Regions from separate parts of the Homo sapiens genome. Here region 1 is linked to region 2. The links are contacts of gene promoters, found by promoter capture Hi-C in blood cells and fetal thymus (Javierre and others, 2016). All regions are on one chromosome and are shown on one strand. Each heading gives the region's core, a stretch centred on a gene start or on the middle of the fragment in contact. The rest is flanking DNA. Distances are from core to core; before and after follow the strand shown. Region 1 has its middle 3.5 kb from the start of GID8. Region 2 holds the start of LAMA5 (laminin subunit alpha 5).

Region 1 (5,265 bases), core at 521-3,020, 570 kb before region 2:
GGTCCCATGTTTCCGTTGCTGGGAAGTACCTTAAAATATTTGATAGAGCCGAAGGAAGAAATAGAGTCCTTGAGGGGCAGCTCCTGATTTCATCTGTGAGGAATTCACGGGACGGCTTCTTTCTGAAGTCAGGGGTGAGGTGGTTTCGTGTGTTTGCTTACAAGCGAGCTGAACAACGTGTAAGCTATGTCGGTCGGTCTACTCAGCGACAGTAAGTCCAGTTCGGCAAATAGGTTGGAGGAGACTGATTTTGGACATTTTCCGTTAATCGAAAGAGCTAAATCTGCAGGTATAAGGTCTTGACAAAATTATGCTTCATATGCAGAGGCAGTACATGCCAGTAATTTTTTCATTTGCAACTACATAACCCTATGGGAAACAGTTATTGGTCTTTATTTAGTTATTTATTTTGAGACGAAGTCTCACTCTCGCCCAGGCTGGAGCGCAGTGGCGCCATCTCGGCTCACTGCAACCTCCGCCTCCCGGGTTCAAGCGATTCTCCTGCCTCAGCCTCCCGAGTAGCTGGGACCACAGGGGCGCACCACCACGCCCAGCTAATTTTTGTATTTTTAGTAGAGACGGGGTTTCCCCTTGTTGGTCAGGCTGGTCTCAGTGTCTTGACCTCGTGATCCGCCCGCCTCGGACTCCCAAAGTGCTGGGATTACAGGCGTGAGCCACCGCTCCCGGCCTATTTTGATTTTATTTTATTCTATTTTTTGAGAAGGAGTCTCACTTTGTTGCCCAGGCTGGAGTGCACTGTCATGATCTCGACTCACTGCAACCTCCGCCTCCTGGGTTCAAGTGATTCTCCTGCCTCAGCCTCCCGAGTAGCTGGAACTACAGGCACCCGCCACCACGCCCGGCTACTTATTTTGTATTTTTAGTACGGGTGGGGTTTCACCATGTTGGCTAGGCTGGTCTCGAACTCCTGACCTCAAATGATCACCCACCTCGGCCTCCCAAGGTGCTCGGATTACAGTCATGAGCCACCGCATCCGGCCTATTTTTATTTTTTAAAGTTTTTTAGAGACGGGGTCTTGCCTTCTTGCCCAGGCTGGTCTCGATCTCCTGGGCTCAAGCCATCCTCCCGCCTCGGCCTCTGGGAGTGCTGGGTTTACAGGCGTCAGCCACCATGCCCAGCCTGAACGTCAAGGAGAAAGTGTGCAAGGGGATGCACGAGCAGAAAGCTTGAGTGCTAGCGCCTTAAGGCGACATTCCTTAACATTCCAGTCCAAAGAGGCTGTCTCAGTGCCTGCCTGTGGGTCACAGGTTAATGCTCCTCCTCCCAACAGCCAACCGGTTACCAAGTCCTGCTCGAGCCCCCTCCTTAATCCTCTCTAGAAACTGGCTCCTTTGTGTTGTTTCCCAGCCTCTTCCACCATAACGTGGAAGCCATCATCTTTGCTTTTTGGATTGCCAGGATGTCTCCGTAACTCCTGTTGAGCTCCAGAAGTCCTGTCACTACCTCTCACATAGCAGACAGGGTGATCTCTCCAAAAGCCATCACTCATTGACTCTATCCTTCTAACATCCCTTGGGGACTCCCCAGTTGCCTGTGTAAAGTTAGCGCAGCTATAAGTCTGCACTCCTGATCTTACTCTCTGCTCCAGCCATCCCAGCTGATTGGAGGTTTTCTCATGTCAACAAGCTTTGTTATCGCTGTGCTCTCAGTCTGGGCCCTAGCTAACAGCCTTCCCTAGGCTAACTCCTGCTCACCTCCTCAGTAGAGACGTGGCTTTCTCGGGGAAGTCTTCCCTAACAAAGCTGGATTGAGTGCCTTTCCTTTATGCTTGCACAGAATCCTAACTTAGCTCTTCGTAGCTCTTAGCACACGGTCCGTGTGGTTGCTGTCTGATGGGATGTCATGATTCAGCATAAAATGGTAAGCTTCATGTGAGTTGATTATGGCTAAATCGTAATAGGAGCTCCATAAATATTTATTTGTTGAGTGACGAAGGAATAAATGAGTGAATGATTATGAGGATCTTAACTGGAAGCAATACTAGCAAAAATGGAAAGAGACCTTCAGTCAGGATGGAAATGAGCAGTCCTTGGTGACTGACAATTTGTGGGAGCTAAGAAGGAAGACCAGAGTGATGCGGGTGAGTAGCCCAGCTGATGAGGTGGTGGCACCAACTGAGAATGATCATGAAGAAGAAGGAGGTGCAACAACGAGGGAAAGGTGGTGAGTTCACCGTGGGCCTCATTCAATTGGAGGTGCCTGTGGGACACATCTAAAGCTCAAGGGGAAGAGCAGGGCTAGAGTTGAGAGTTGATGGGTACAGTATTCAGAGGAAGCCCATGGAGACAAGGAGTGGATCAAGTCCAGAATGCAGAGCTGCAAGCTGTATTCACTAAGGAAGAAGCTGCCTATGAAGGGTAGCAAGAAAGTGGCCGGGGGGTCTGACAAGAACCAGGGGCTTCAAAGGCGCTCCCTGAAGCCACAGGGTGTCCAGTTTCGAGAAGCTATGTTAGCAGTTTCCAGGCGGCAGGGAAGTCCAGGGTGAAGGTGCCAAAACTCCCCATTTGATGGTTTTTGGTGAGAGAGCAAGAAGTTGAGAGATGTGATGGGAATGGGAAACATTGGAGTGTGGTGAGCAGGGGTGAGGTGAAGACAGCGTAGTATGTTGAAGGTGTTCAGAAGCCATTAGGGCCATGCACTTATGTACTGAGAAGTGAGCAGTGAGCTAGATGCCACAAAACGCTGCAGCAGCAGGTGAGACTGAGGAGCAGGGAGGGGGGTCAAGGATAATTTCTCAGCTTCTGGCCTATGAATTTATAGGGTGGTGGGACCATCCTCTGGATAGGGAACGCCAGAGAAGAGCCTGGAAGTATGTAGTAGGGAGGTCAGAAGTCCTAAGCTCATTTTGCATGTGTTAGGTAGGTTTTGAAGTGCATTTGAGGCATTCACGTGGAGATGCCAGGGGAGCAGGTGAATGATGGTGCCCAGATCCAGGCAGAGATAAAGGCAACTACAGCCAGGTGTGCATGAAGTCTCTGTGGAGAAGGGATGGGTGGAGGGAGAGGAGGAGAGCCTGGGCCAGAGCCCTGAAGCCACCAGCATGGAGGCTCACCAAGAGTGCAGGAGAGCAGGAAAGAGGTAGGTGGGTCCCGGGACAGGAGAGGGTGCAGGGCCACACGGGTTGGCATCTGGGACAGTGACAAGGACTTCAGCCTGCTGGATTCATCAACTGCCTGAGCTTTCCTATGACAGAGGTGGGCATGTGGATGAGAGAAACCAAAGGCTTGGCCCTTACAGTCAGCTGAGGGGCAACCAGGTGTTCAGAGCTTCCAGTGTCTTGCAAGCTGAGGTGGTGGCTTTGAACTTGAGTTGTTTCATATTGAAAGAGATGAACAGAAAGAGGAGTGCTAAAGGTATATTAATCTTAAAAGAACATTAATGAGTTTTTAAAAAGGGGAGAGCAGTTTGCCCAGGCTGGAGTGCAATGGTGTGATAATGGCTCACTGCAACCTACACCTCCCAGCTAATCCTCCCATGTTAGCCTCTTGAGTAGCTGGGACTACAGGCGGAAGCCACCACACCCAGCTAATTTTGTTTATTTTTTGTAGAGGAGAGGTCTCACTATGTTGCCCAGGCTGTTCTCAAACTTCTGCGTGCAAGCAGTCTTCCTGCCTCAGCCTCCCAGAGTGCTGGGATTACAGGTGTGAACCACTGCATAGAGTGCTTCCTTTACTCAAATCATAGAATGTTTAAAAACCAGGATATCAGCCATGTTTCAAAACCACATTATTCCCATGGATGTTTTGTTTTACTCTCAAAACCCAAAAGCATAAAATCAAACCCCTACATACTGGAGACTTCAGGCTTTCAAAGAGATTGGGCAAATCAAACCACCTTACTTTTCAGGATAATTGATAAACCCATCAGTTGTTGATGCTTAGAATGGTTAGCAGAAGTAGGTAGGAAACACTCAGACCTCAATTTTCATGAACTTCACTTTTCACAGTATTTTAAACAATTAGAGATGTTGGAAAGAGGTAAGGAAGAATTTTACTATTTAGTCTGCTGCACATATTCTTTTGTTGTTGTTTTTTTGTTTGAGACAGAATTTCACTCTTGTTGCCCAGGCTGGAGTGCAATGGCACGATCTTGGCTCACTGCAACCTCCGCCTACCGGTTTAAGCGATTCTCCTGCCTCAGCCTCCTGAGTAACTGGGATTACAGACATGCGCCACCACGCCCGGCTAATTTTGTATTGTTAGTAGAGATGGGGTTTCTTCATGTTGGTCAGGCTGGTCTCGAACTCCAGACCTCAGGTGATCCACCTGCCTGGGCCTCCCAAAATGCTGGGAATACAGGCATGAGCCATGGCGCCTGGCCTGCTGCACATATTCTGACACCATGTGTCTGGTGAACCCAGACCCTGTAAAGAATCTTCACTGGTGATTGTTTGATATAGGTGACCTTCCCCCTCCCTCTTTTTGCCTGATTTTATTTCCCTTTCTAGATTATACCACTAAATCAGAAAGCACTGAATATTTTGTAAGTTTGTTTGGGTGAGAGCAAGAATAATCTTTTCTTGATTTTTATTTTTATTTTTTTAAAACCTTTAACTCCTGCTGAGGTTGAGACAAACCGTATCTAGCATACTGTTACCTGAAACAAATGTGGTAGGAGGGAAGGTGATACAGTCCTGCCATTGCAGACCAGTGGGAAAGGCCAAAGAGTATTTTGAGTAGCAATGTACATGGTCAAAGCATTGTTTATGTACTATTTCATTTGAGTTTGATTATGTAGTTTGAACCTGGCTGGTCAGGATTTGATAGACAGTTACTGGTTTGGGATCTGACTTTTCTTTTTTATAAAAATTAACAAAAAATATATGTAAATATACACACATACATGTGGATAGTTCTCTCTGTGTCTTAAGTTATTTGTATGCATGCAGCTGTTGTGATCACGTGTCTGATGGGCAGGTAGAAGTAGAAATAAGAGTTCCTATGTTTCCCAGGCTGGCCTTCAACTCCTGGGCTCAAGTGATCCTCTCTCCTGGGCCTCCCAAAGTGTCAGGATTACAGGCGTGAGCCACCGTGCCTGGCCCTACATTTACTCTTTAAATACTTTCCTATTGGAATGAAAGAGGCAGGGTGGCTCACACCTACAATCCCAGCACTTTGGGGAGGCTGAGACAGGGGAATCCCTTGAGGCCAGGAGTTTGAGACCAGCCAGGTCAACAAAGCAAGACCTCCCTGAAGGGAAAAAACCTCCAGTTCCCATTTGGGTGTCTTTTGGAAACTGCTAAT
Region 2 (5,432 bases), core at 172-2,671:
CTCCGCCCCCTCTCCAGCCAGCCCCTCCCCCACTTGGAGCTTCTCCTGCCAAGGGGAGCCGCCTCCTCTCCCCCCTCCCCCAGGTGGGAGAACTAATAGTGAAGTTATGGAAGAATTGCCGGGCCGGAAAGTAGGAGGAGGGAGAGAGGGTCCCATCGCCCTCCCGACTCCGTAGAGAAAGGGCCATACACCCTCTTGGGATTTGAGATTTGCAGGAGGCCAGGGCGCCAGGAAGGTGTGCAAGGAGGTGCACCCTCCAGGGACAGCTGCTAGCTCAGAACCCCCACCAGAACCGGCTGGCCAGTGCCCCACAAACCCACCCAGCCCCCCGGGACTGTCCAGGGAACCCAGCGAGAGATGAGCCCCACAGCCCATCTGGGACCATGGCCCGCCCAGCTGGCCTGGCTCAGGGATGGGGGTTTGCTGCCAGCTCGGCAGCTGCAGCCCCACCCCGCCGCCACCCCCTCGGGGCTTCCCTGGAGGCAGATTTGGCCCCGGAGCCCAAGGGAAGTAGGAGACCCAGGGCCGCAGCCACCCAAAGGCAGACGAAGACCTGATCTCGGCCTCTAGGTCCTGTGCTGTTTGCCAGGCGTCCTCGAGCCGCCGATCGTGGCAGGAACGCGTGCGCGGCTGTGCAGCGGGTTGGAGGCCAGGCCGAGAGAGCTGGTGGAGTCCACCGGGCCCCGGAGCACAGGTGCTTCCAGGCACCCAGCAGGTGCTCAGCAGCTGTGACCAGAGCCCCCGACCTCCTTAAGAGCCAATTTGGCGGCTGTGGGGCCATGAGCACCGCCCCCGTCCTCTAAAGGGGGCTGCAGCTGCAGGCCAGTCCCTCCTGCCCCTATTTCCCTATCTGAGAGTATTTTTAAGCCCTGCTGGGGCAGGCGGGAGCCAGGCCGAGTTGAACCTGACCTGGCTGCCCCAGGAAGCAGGGGGTTCCCACCTAGGCTGCCCCGTTCCTCTGCAGATGGTCATTCGCGGGTGCAGAGGGCACCTTCCCGCAGCCAGCAGGACGGACGCTGTTGGGGGAGGAGCGGGGGCAGCCGAGTGGTGCACCCAAGTTAGGGGAACAAAGAGTGGGCCCCTGGGCTGGGAGGAGCTGGTGGGCGCTCTGGGGGCCAGGGCGTCGTGGGGAGCGCTAGGGTCCCACCCGGGACCCGGAGCTACGACCTGGGCTGGGGGCCCGGCGGCGCCGTCGTCCCACGGCCTGGCCCGAGGCCAGCAGGTGCCCCTTCCGGGAGGCGGCCGGGCCGGGGTCCGAAGGGTTAAGGCCGCCCGGCCGCCCCTCCCCCTCCTCTCTCCTTCCCCCCCCCACCCCGCCTCCCCGGACCTCTCCCCGGGGCTCGGGGCTCGGGCGCTCGGGCGGGCCGGGGCGGGGCCTGACGTCCGCGGGCGGAGCGAGCCCTGCCGGCCGCCTGGCTTCAGACCCGCCGGGCTCCCGCCGCGCGCGCTGTCCCTGGAGCTCGGGGACGCGGCCCGGAGCCGGGAAGATGGCGAAGCGGCTCTGCGCGGGGAGCGCACTGTGTGTTCGCGGCCCCCGGGGCCCCGCGCCGCTGCTGCTGGTCGGGCTGGCGCTGCTGGGCGCGGCGCGGGCGCGGGAGGAGGCGGGCGGCGGCTTCAGCCTGCACCCGCCCTACTTCAACCTGGCCGAGGGCGCCCGCATCGCCGCCTCCGCGACCTGCGGAGAGGAGGCCCCGGCGCGCGGCTCCCCGCGCCCCACCGAGGACCTTTACTGCAAGCTGGTAGGGGGCCCCGTGGCCGGCGGCGACCCCAACCAGACCATCCGGGTGAGCGCAGGGGCGGGCCGTGGGGCTTCCTCCCGGGGCACTCGGACCCGGAACACCGGCCCGACCCCAGGGGGAGCGCCGTGGCCCGGGGCGAGTCCAGGTGCGGACTCTCTGGTTCCGCATTTTGGGGGCCCAAGAAGGCACCCCGACCCGGCCGCTCCGTCTCGGCCGGGAAACTTCGCGTCCCTCCGGGAAGGCGGAATTAAAGTCCCCGGCATGGACCCGGGGGCGGCTGGGCGCCGGTCCAGTTCGACTGCGGTGACCGGGGCGGGAGGGGGGCCGGGCCCAGTCCCTGGCGGCCCCAAGTCCGGGATCCCGGGGAGGGCGGGACTTGGCCTCCGCCGCCTGCTGCCGGTGGGGAGGGGGCGCAGCTCCGCCCTACCCGGGACAGGCTGGAACCTGTTGGCCTCTGGATGGGGTGGGAGGGGCCAGCCACCTGAGGCTCCCACTAGCCCCTCTCGGAGGAGTCTAGGGACTCGAGGAGACCTCCAAAGTAGGGGAGGGCCAGCTGCGAAGTTTTGACTGGGGCTGGGAACACGTGGCTCCCAGGAGGGGCAGCATCTCTGCCCAGCAGGTGGTAGGGTCCGGGGGCTTCAGTCTCCCTGGGAGATGTGGGTTCAGGCCCTGAAGACCCCCTGGGGTGCATGTCCCCTCCCCAACAAGCCTTAAACCTGTAGGCGGGTTCTGTTGGTGGACTCCATGCATGGACACCTCACCTGAAAACCAAGGCTCTTGGGGCCCTGTAGACTTAGGTTGGGCCTGGGGTCAGCCTTGGGTGAGGAGCAGCAAAGTCAGCTCCAACGGCTCCCAACCGGCCGCTCTAGGCCCATTCCCCACCTCAGCCCCACCTTAGGGAGAGTCTAGGGGCCCTGAGGGCCTGTGTAACCTGAGCTGTCTCCTCCCTGGTACCTCTGCCTTCCCGGAAGGAGAGGCTGGGGCAGGGGCGAGTAGCTGGAGATTTGCTGGGTGGGGGCAGAGGGCCCTGGAGCAAGACGTTATGGGGATGAATGGAGGAGCCTGGGCTGGGCCCGCCCCCTCTGCCTGCCCCACCCCCTTGGCCCTGGTGGAGGGGGAAGGAGCCTCCCCAGGCTTCTGGGCTCACCGTTCTCTCCTTAAGCCCAGCACAGTCCTCTGAGATAGGAGGTCTCAAGCCCACACTTCAGATGGGGGATCTGAGCCCTGGAAAGCTGCTGACACCTGCTTGGAGCCCCCCAGCCAGAACAGGGTCCAGCGGGGGTTAGCTGTGGGAACCTGGGTGCCTCCTGGCTGCCCCCTTATCTGGTCAACTCAGAGGGGCCGGGTCTCAGGACGGAGGGCCTGTGACTGTCTCCTTACCTGCTGCCACACCTCACCACAGAGGGCCTGGCTGAGTGTCCCCAGCTGAGATTTTGCCGTTCTGGCAGGGGAGGCTCCAGGTGCCCTGTGAACCTCAGACCACCCCCCCACAGCCTGCCCATGCTGCGTGGCTGGGGGCCACAGGCCCCCTCTCAGATCTGTCTCCTCTGTGGGGGCTTATTACCCCCGTCTCGTGAGTAAAGGGCCAGCCTGTAGTCAACGCCCCTCTCCTCTGCCTCAGCTGTGTGGCTTCCCTCTGTCAGCCTCAAGCTGTCTTTAAAATGGGCACAGCGTGCTGGCCCCCCTCACCTGAGACTGTGAGCTTGGCCCGAGGAGCCTGGGAAGTGGCCACAGTTTCAGTGGCAGCTGTGGGCTGTGGTGCTCCATGCCTCAGAGCCAGCTTGGATGAGAAACCAGCCGGCCTCGCCCAGCTCATGTCTAGCAATAGAGGTGAACCCTTCGCTTCCAAAGTCTCGAGCTCTGAGCAGTGAGTGCCCGCTGAGGCTGCCAGATATGTAGAAAGATCAGCTGGTAGACGTGAGCTGGACGGGTATGACCTTGGATGCCTCCTTCATCTGAGAGCCGCGGGTCTGCTGACCGCCCTGGCCGCGGATTGGGCGTGTGAGAAGTCCTTGCCGGCCGGTCTGGAGTGGAGCTGCGGTTGGGGCAAGGCAGGCAGGCACAGGAGGTGCCCAGGCGATGAAGCCGCAGCTCCATCTGAGGGGGCTCACTAAGGCTATGGGGCCTGGGGCTGGGCAGTGTGTTCTCAAGGCTGCAGGCCAGGGGCTCTCAGGGACCCTCTGTAGGAGATGCACATTAGCTGGGCATCCCAGATGGGGGTCGGGGTGAACCCTGCTGGGCAGCTGGAGCAGGCAGAGGGCAGGGGGAGGTTGTGGCCCTCACAGCCCCAGGTGGGCATCAGGGGATCCCTGGCCGGCCCAGCCTGGGAAGGTGGGGACTGGGCAGCCAGGCCAGCATGGTGACTCATTGGAAGGGGAAGTCCTTATCGGCCCTTCTGCTGTTTCCTAGCTCTGTTCTCACGGGACCCTCCGCAGCGGAGGTGGGGGAGCCTGGTTTTCCCAACCCTGTCCTCTGTGGCTCAGTGAGTGGCCGAATGGGGACTGGAACTGCCTCCCAATAACTGGACCAACGCTGGCCCAGGCAGGGACTGAGCAGGTGCTTCCCTGACCTCCTGGAAGAGTAGAGGCTGACCCTTGACCCGCAACCTTCCACCCAGCTTCCCTCTGCTGCTCGTGTGTCTGGGAGGGTCTTGACCAGCAAGCAGCCTTCCCTGGGAGGTCCGGCTGTCCCAGCCAGAGGGCGCCGCCCACACCTACCTTCTCCAGGAGCCCCTGGCCCCACCCTGAGCAGGACCTGTGTGCGCCGTGCTGTCATTGAGCTCTTGAGTTTGGGGGCCACCATCAAAGCTTGCAGTGCGGCCTGCGGGTAGGGGTCGTGGCGCTTAACTGGGTGTCTTCAGTTGCTCTAGCCCCATCCACGAGAATGCTTAGGTGGTGAGCTGGGGACACAGCGGGAATAAGGAGGGTGTGGACCCTGCCACTGCAGAGCTCTGGGGGACCCCGGGGAGGCCCCCAGATAATTCCAGGTCTCATACATGCAGTAAAGGAAATACAGCAGTGGCCACACTGGGGGCTGCAGAGCTGCATCTTGGGTGGTCTGGGGCAAGGTCTGAGATGGGGCAATCCAAACACCAGGGCGGGGTCTTGGGAGCCTGTGGGAGGGGTACCGGGTGTTGCCCTGGTGCTCAGTGGAGGCAGAGGGCACACTCTGGGCGAGGGGGTTGGGCCCTCTGTAGGTGCTGGGCCTGGGGGTGGGGAGAAGGCATCTCCCCAGCTCCTGCCTCCTCCTCCTAGGATGAGGTCTGGCCCCCCAAGGGAGGCTGGGCGGGGTAGGGCCGCTGACTTTCTCAAACTCAGATTGAGGCCTCTGGGGCCTCAATCAACCCCAAGCCTGGGAGGGCGCCTTTGTGTGGACAAACAGCAGATCTGGTTTCCTGGGGGGGCGGGGGAGCAGCCAGGACCCAGCTCTGCCCCCTCTCCTCATCCCTGCCCCGGCTCCCAGCACTACCCCTCCCCTGCCAGGATGCAGGCCAGGATTCTGCTGGGAGCCTCCTCTCTTCCCCACTCACCCATGCAGGACAGGCCCCCAGCAGATGGCAGGCCCGGGACAGAAGCGGCTGCCAGGCTGTGTGTGTGAGCCATTACTCCTCACGGTGGCCCCAGGCAGGTGCAGCCTTATCCCCACTCTTTGGATGGGGACATTGAGGCTCAGCAGTTACTGTGACTTGGCCTC

Evidence for each region. Contacts are between HindIII fragments. The CHiCAGO score rates a contact against its expected background, and 5 or more counts as called.
Region 1: a contact is called between a fragment that was not itself captured here and the fragment with the promoter of LAMA5 in region 2, in 2 of 17 cell types (total B cells and megakaryocytes). The highest score is 6.0, in total B cells.

The regions. Positions count from the first base shown.
Region 1 is chr20:62,932,008-62,937,272 of GRCh38, reverse strand. It overlaps a transcript of DIDO1 not described here. Among named protein-coding and RNA genes, the nearest start is that of GID8, 3.5 kb to the left of the region's middle. The HindIII fragment of the contact is 239 bases long and covers 1,651-1,889 here.
Region 2 is chr20:62,363,301-62,368,732 of GRCh38, reverse strand. It overlaps LAMA5 (laminin subunit alpha 5), which reads left to right and starts at 1,421. Exons shown (of 80, transcript NM_005560.6): 1 at 1,421-1,784. The coding sequence starts at 1,488. RefSeq lists silencers at 1,298-1,737, 4,066-4,360 and enhancers at 1,917-2,616, 3,315-4,014, 4,015-4,714, 5,227-5,276, 5,415-5,432. The HindIII fragment of the contact is 18,996 bases long and covers 1-4,548 here.